Linked DNA regions of Homo sapiens: region 2 is linked to region 1. Evidence: promoter capture Hi-C in human tissues and cell types (Jung and others, 2019). All regions are on one chromosome and are shown on one strand. Each heading gives the region's core, a stretch centred on a gene start or on the middle of the fragment in contact. The rest is flanking DNA. Distances are from core to core; before and after follow the strand shown. Region 1 holds the start of PTGES3L (prostaglandin E synthase 3 like). Region 2 holds the start of PSMC3IP (PSMC3 interacting protein).

What was found. The method cuts DNA at HindIII sites, captures the fragments that hold promoters and counts their contacts. A contact is called where the count stands out against the background at its distance.
Region 2: a contact is called between the fragment with the promoter of PSMC3IP here and the fragment with the promoter of PTGES3L in region 1, in 1 of the 25 tissues and cell types used here (heart left ventricle).

The regions. Positions count from the first base shown.
Region 1 is chr17:42,978,081-42,981,633 of GRCh38, reverse strand. PTGES3L (prostaglandin E synthase 3 like) reads left to right here and starts at 1,554. Exons shown (of 7, transcript NM_001261430.2): 1 at 1,554-1,588; 2 at 1,971-2,084; 3 at 2,190-2,256; 4 at 2,366-2,464. The coding sequence starts at 1,581. PTGES3L-AARSD1 (PTGES3L-AARSD1 readthrough) reads left to right here and starts at 1,106. Exons shown (of 17, transcript NM_001136042.2): 1 at 1,106-1,588; 2 at 1,971-2,084; 3 at 2,190-2,256; 4 at 2,366-2,464. The coding sequence starts at 1,452. It overlaps RUNDC1 (RUN domain containing 1), which reads right to left and starts at 1,069. Exons shown (of 5, transcript NM_173079.5): 1 at 560-1,069. The coding sequence starts at 1,057. RefSeq lists a silencer at 753-1,002 and an enhancer at 1,073-1,142. The HindIII fragment of the contact is 11,093 bases long and covers 1-2,523 here.
Region 2 is chr17:42,575,973-42,579,525 of GRCh38, reverse strand. PSMC3IP (PSMC3 interacting protein) reads left to right here and starts at 1,797. Exons shown (of 8, transcript NM_016556.4): 1 at 1,797-1,873; 2 at 1,965-2,065; 3 at 2,224-2,313. The coding sequence starts at 1,840. RETREG3 (reticulophagy regulator family member 3) reads left to right here. Exons shown (of 9, transcript NM_178126.4): 9 at 1-11. RefSeq lists an enhancer at 1,446-1,535 and a silencer at 1,836-1,885. The HindIII fragment of the contact is 7,362 bases long and covers 1-3,553 here.

The sequences.
Region 1 (3,553 bases), core at 305-2,804:
ATTTATCTAATCAAGAGTTGTGTTTATTTCAGTTACTAAGAGACCCTGCTGTTAATCCAAACTCCCACCCAAAGAAGTGTAAAGACTGCCTAGATTTCAGGAAAGCAGGGACAGGGAGTTAACCTAAATTTCCACGGATTCCAACTCACTTTCCTTTCCTTTGCCAATTTTCCCAATCCCCAGAGTCGGGGTCCTCTAGCAGCCAAAGTGTTCAAGACTGAGATACGTGAGGGAAAGGTGAGTGGGCGCAGCACTGCTCTTGGCTGCTCTGCTGCCCTCTCAACGACTCACTTCGCTCACCGCTCCTCTACCACTCACGTCATCACGCACCGACATCTCTCCACATCCTCCGTGCACACCGCTCACCCTCAGGTTCCCAGGCCTCTGTCCTCTTGCCCTTCAGCCGGCCCCGCACTCCAGTCCCCTGGTCTCCGACACACGTACTCACCGACCGAGTCGGGGAGGCTTCTCCCCGCATGCACCATCATCCGGGTCTGGATCGCCACCCACACGACCCCACTATTCCCATATTCCTCGCGGCCCGGCTCCAGCCACTCACCTGGTCCTCGCCCCGCAACCATGGCCGGTCCCCTGGCAGCCCATCGCCCTCATCGCTGGCGGGGTCGCCGGGCCCTTCGTAACCTAGGACGTGAGGGCAGCCGCGGAAGGCGAAGTCTTCGAGCTCCCGCAGAAGGCGCTGCTGCTCCGCCGGCGCCCCGCGCACCACCTGGCGCAGGCGGAACTGCACCTGCGCGAAGTGCGAGGACAGCGCCAGCAGCGCCGAGTCCAGCCGCCGCCGCTCTGCCCGCAGCCGCCGCAGCGTCCGGCCCGGCGAATCCGGCGGGGAGCCCGGGGCCGCGCCAGGCTCCTCGGCCGTCGCCTCTTCTAAAAACGCGGTTGCCCCAGGCCGGGCCTCCGCCACCGCCCCCACTGGGGCCCAGCGCACCGCCTCGCACGGTGGCAGCGGCTCCTCTTCCTCCTCCTCTTCGTCTTTCGCCTTTGGCCCAACAGCCGCCACCACCGTTACCGGCTCTGCAGCCGCTTCGACAGCCGCCATCTTCCCGGAAACACCACCGCACGTCAGCCGCGCCCCCCTGCTGCCATGGCAACGGCGCGGTGGCCTGGAACCCCAGGGGAGTGGTGGGCGGGGCCTGAAGTACCCAAGTCCCCGAGGGCGCGCCTTCCCCGGGAATTTAATTCAGGACAATAATGTTTTATTGAGCGCCTATTGTGAATCAGACACTGAGCAGTAAGCGTCGGAGAAACAGGTGAATGATACCGGGGAAAAGTCATTCCCTGTGTGTAGCGTCTAGGGCAGCCTTTGCCCTGGTTCCAGCAGATGGGTTGTCTCTTCATAGTCTATGCATTTCTGAAGACCCCACGGTGAAGGGCTGCAAGGATGAAGCTGTCCCAGAGTATCTCCAGAGTGCAGATCCCTTGGCTGCCAGGTCATGTTCTCTCTTCCTCTCAACTGCTCTCCCGACCATATAAGGAGAGGCAGCTGCTGGGGGCGTCCCCAGGATCTAAAGATAGCGGCCCCTGCCTGGAACTCTAAATGCCACCCTGGAGCGGGAGCCGCAATGGCACGGTGAGTGTTTCCGGCTCCGGTGCTCCCCCTGGCCCTTTTCCCTGGAGATTCCCTGCTCCAAGTCTTCTGGGCGCTCCAGGTTCTGTGAGGCCCCACGGGAGCCCCGGACCCCTGGTCTCTGTAACTGTGGGGTGAGGGAAGGTGTGACCTGAATGTTCTCCCTGACCTCCTAGTTTCCTAGTCTTGCACGTTCTATTCTTCCCAGGTTCACATTCACCACACCCACCCACTCCTGTCATTCCCTTCCCTTTCACCCCTTCTGTCTCATTTAGCTCCACTTTGAAAAAACTGTGGCATCAAAGGTCCCTGGGTAGTCCCTTCCCAAATGACCTCAGTCTTCCCTCTCCCACCCCTATGAAGCCACACCTCAACTTCTCTTCAGGCAGCACGCCCGGACCTTGTGGTACGACAGGCCCAGGTATGTGTTCATGGAGTTTTGTGTTGAGGACAGCACCGATGTCCACGTGCTTATTGAGGATCACCGCATTGTGTTCAGGTAGTGGCCCTGCCGTCCGAGGGCCTGGCTTCCCAGGAATCTACCCCTTTCCTAATGTCCCCACACGGAGTATTCCGCATCTCCTCAGCTTCATTGTCTCCTCAGCTGCAAGAATGCCGATGGAGTGGAGTTGTACAATGAGATTGAGTTCTATGCCAAAGTGAACTCCAAGGTAAGGGTGAAATGGGACAGTAAGGTTTGGATGGAAACCGGGCTGCCCAGGGAAACTGGAGATTAATTCTAAACCCCAGACCCTAAGAATGAGGCTCTCTATCTGGCAGGACTCCCAGGATAAGCGCTCTTCCCGCTCTATTACTTGTTTTGTGAGAAAATGGAAGGAAAAGGTGGCCTGGCCGCGGCTTACCAAGGAGGATATCAAGGTGGGTGTGTGGAAAGTGGCCTGCTTCTTCTCTCCATGTACCCAGGTTACAGCTGGGATTGTCCTTGCCTCCTTTCCAGCCAATATTCAATCACTCAACAAGTCCTGCCTAATCTTTTTTTTCCAACTGTATTAGTCTCTCTTTTTATTTTTATTTATTTATTTATTTTGAGACGGAGTTTCACTCTTGTTGCCCAGGCTGGAGTGCAGTGGCGTGATCTCAGCTCACCATGGCCTCCGCCTCCCGGGTTCAAGCAATTCTCCTGCCTCAGCCTCCTGGGTAGCTGGGATTACAGGCATGCACCACCACGCCCAGCTAATTTTGTATTTTTAGTAGAGATGGGGTTTCTCCTTGTTGCTCAGGCTGGTCTCGAACTCCCGACTTCAGGTGATCTGCCCGCCTCGGCCTCCCAAAGTGCTGGGATTACAGGCGTGAGCCACCGCGCCTGGCTTATTTTTTAACTTAAAGTTCTGGGATACATGTGCAGAACATGCAGGTTTGTTACATAGGTATACGTGTGCCATGGTGGTTTGCTGCATCTATCAACCCGTCATGCAGGTTTTAAGTCCTGCATACATTAGCTATTTGTCCTGAGTCTCTTTTTACTCTCTTGGTAATCTCTCCCAGTTAACTTACTTTCGTTGTAGGTGATGAAATGTGTAAGACTCCACTTCAGATATTGGCACTGCTATGAACATGGTCTTTCCCTTTACTGCAACTCACAATCAAAACCTTTGATTCTTTTTGTGTGTGTGTTTGTGTGAGATGGATTCTCACTCCCGTAGCACAGGCTGGAGTGCAGTGGCGCGATCTTGGCCCACTGCAACATCCACTTCCCGGGTTCAAGCGATTCTCCTTCCTCAGCCTCCTGAGTAGCTGGGATTACTGGCTTGTGCCCCCACGCCTGGCTAATTTTTGTATTTTTAGTAGAGACGGGGTTTCACCATATTGGTCAGGCTGGTCTTGAATTCCTGACCTCAGGTGGTCTACCCGCCTCAGCCTCCCAAACTGCTAGGATTACAGGCGTGAGCCAATGTGCCCAGCCATTTCTTTTTCTTTTTTCTTTCTGTTTTTTTTTTTTTTTTTTTT
Region 2 (3,553 bases), core at 548-3,047, 400 kb after region 1:
TATGAGAACAATCTTTAAGAGACTGATGCTGAATGGTGTCCTACCCTTGATAGGTCTTCTCTTGTAAATCTGAGTTCTGATTAATTTGAAGTGATAGCCTTAAAAGAGGAAGCCCAGGTATGAGGGACCCACCAGCCCACCCCTATTTTTACTTCGTGATGGCCAGAACATCACCATAGTATGAGGCTACTTTCCTTCTTGTGAGAGCCCCACCATCAGTATAACTGGCACTCTTGGCTAGTATTTAGCCTGTATTTCCTTCATTTCTAATTTCTTTTTTTTTCCTGAGACGGAGTCTTGGTCTGTCGCCCAGGCTGGAGTGCAGTGGTGCGATCTCTCACTGCAAGCTCCGCCTCCCGGGTTCACGCCATTCTCCTGCCTCAGCCTCCTGAGTAGCTTGGACTACAGGCGCCCACCAGCACGCCTGGCTAATTTTTTGTATTTTTAGTAGAGATGGGGTTTCACAGTGTTAGCCAGGATGGTCTCGATCTCCTGACCTCGTGATCCGCCCGCCCTGGCCTCCCAAAGTGCTGGGATTGCAGGCGTGAGCCACCGCGCTCGGCCCTTTCATTTCTAATTCTTAATATTGTCTCCTAAACGTGCAGAGACAAGCACACGTTTTAAAGGCTAAGGAGGTTGTAGGTAGCAGAAGGCTTTAAAAAGTAGCACCTTACTCCTTCACTGGATGGTCTGAGCTGCAGGGACAGCTGCTCTTTGGCCTTCAGCTCACCTCAGAAACTAGAAATATTTATTTCAGGCTCTGTCCCATTGGCCACTGTGGTCAGGGGTGGAAAGCACCTGCCAGGTGTTGCCCTGAGATTGTCTGGGCTAACAAACTTTTCCACAAGCTTTGTGGTTGAACAGTAGCCCCCTCCTAACCCTATCGTTCCTTGGCGTCCAAACTACAGTAGGTGTCGAGTGCCCCCTGGGTGCGAAGCTCGGTATTAGGCAAATAAGGGTGGTTGCTCTCCAAGGCGCTTAGCTGTCCCCCCTTCCCACTTTTTTTTTTTTTGTTCGAGACTGCGTCTCGCTCTGTCGCCAGGATGGGGTGCAGTGGCGCGCTCATAGTGGCTCACTGCAGCCTCGATGTCCGGGGCTCTGGTGACCCTCCCACCTCAGCCTCCAGAGTAGCTGGGACCACAGAAGCGCGCCACCACTCTTAATTTTTTGTACTTTATTTGCAGAGATGGGGTTTCATATTGCCCAGACTGGTTTCGAATTCCTGGGCTCAAACGATCCGCCCGCCTCAGCCTCCCAAAGTGATAGAATTGCAGGGGTGACATGCCACTGCGCCCGACCAAGGCGCTTAGCTTTCTATTAAGTTTTCACAACCACTTTCCTACCACTATCTACTGTTCCTATTTTACAAATGACAAAACTAACCGACAAAAGAGCACTGGACCGTGGGACCAGAGCACGTCCCTGTGGGGTAACCTTGAGCTGGTCGCTTGCCCAGGGCGGCAGCGGATGTCTGAAGCGTCTTCCAATCCCAACATTAGACTTAATTCAAGGTCACCAGTGCTCAGCTGCGGCTGGAACTGGGTCTCGAAACTTGAAGGCCTTCTCTGCTACAGCCTTCGTTCCCGGGAGCAGAAAGAGGAAGTTTCTTAGCCGTGGGCACGCCGGCGCCTTCGCAGAGGCCCATGGCTTGAGGTCCGGCCCGAATGCGCAAGTTCCGACCTGAAATGAACTATGGAGTCCGGGAGGGGTCGCTTTGCTCCTCCGGAAGGCTTCCCCTTCAGCCAATCACCGTTCGAGGCCCGCCCCCGTCGCCGGAAGGAGCCGTCGCCCCGAGCAACTACAACGTCCGGCTTTCTGAGTTGGGTGGCGGGAAAGGCGATGAGTAAAGGCCGGGCAGAAGCTGCGGCGGGAGGTAACGGCGCCGTGGGCGCGGGGAAGACCCGGGAGGGCAGTGGGTGAGGAGGTCGGTTGAGTGGCCCCCTCCCCTGCCTTTCTCTCCGTAGCCGCCGGGATCCTCCTGAGGTACCTGCAGGAGCAGAACCGGCCCTACAGCTCCCAGGATGTGTTCGGGAACCTACAGCGGGAACACGGACTGGGCAAGGCGGTGAGGACCTTCTCCCGGGATTCCCTCTCCGTCGGACTCCCTGGATTCAGGCTGGGGTCGTGCCCTTTGGAGCCTTGGGCGTTTTCCACATCACTGGCTGGATTTCCCCAGACCCAGGCTCAGACTCCTCTGATTGCTCCTTCTCTCTCCTCTGCCAGGTGGTGGTGAAGACGCTGGAGCAGCTGGCGCAACAAGGCAAGATCAAAGAGAAGATGTACGGCAAGCAGAAGATCTATTTTGCGGATCAGGTGAGGAGAACTTGCGCCGATTGTCACCCATGAGAGCCCGACAACGGGTGAATCTACTCCTGGTGTGAACTCTTTGGGGACAAGGCCCCCCATGGAAAACTCACCTGTCTTAGGCCACCATCCTTAAATCAAGGTGTGTACTCCTCTTGTTAGGATCCCAACTTCACGAGGTTTCCAGATTTACAATATGATGGATGACAGAAGATTCTGTATTGTTGCTACCAAGATCCATTTCCGCTCCAAAGCTCTTATTCCTTATCATCTACATTAGCAACACCCTCTGCCAAATGATGTTCCTCCTGCCTCCATCCGATTCTCTAAACACACATATCAAATTTATATTCTCCAGCCCAGACCTCCAGCTGGAATCTGTCAGGCATTAATATCAGAGTCAAAATTGCCACAGTAGAATGCCTCATCTTCCCCCCACCCCGGACTGGTTTCTTTCTAACATTCTCCTCCCCTAATGGAATTACTCTTCACCCAAACCAGAAATTGGGAGCAATTCTTGACTTCCTTTACTAGTCAACCATCAAGTCCAGCTGATTTTTCCGTTTTTATTTATTTTTTTAATTTTTATAGAGATGGGTCTTACTGTGCTGCCCAGGTTGGTCCCAACTCCTGGGCTCAAGTGATCCTCCTGTCTTGGCCTCCCAAAGTGCTGGGAGGACAGGCGTGAACCACAGAGCCTGGCTAATTTTTCCATTCTTGAATCCACTCTCCTTTCCATCTGCCATGGTTGCTCTAGTTCACGCCCTCTTTATTTGTTGCAGTATCCTCCTAACAGATCTTGGCTCTTCAAACATATCTTAAACTCTTAAACATTGCAGTCAGAATGATCTGTCTAAATAGATCTGGTCATGCACCTTCCCTATTTAAAACTCTTCAATGGCTCTCTAGTGCTGCAAAAAACATGTAAAAGGCACCGGAAGACGCCCCAGCCAGCCTCTGGCCTCACCAATCCTCATTATTTTTCTATCCACGAACACTAGATAATTCTGGTGTGTTTTACTGCTCTGTCCTTTGCATGTTGTCTTCCCTGTACCTGCTTCTCTTCCTGGCCAGCTCTTTCTTTCCTTGAGGATTTCACTTAGACATCACCTTTTCCAGAAATCTTCCTTGAATGCTCCGAGCTAATTGTTTCTTTTTCAGGCCCTTATCTCTTTTTGTTATTGTTGTTGTTGTTGTTGTTGAGACGGAGTCTCGCTCTGTCACCCAGGCTGGAGTGCAGTGGCACAAT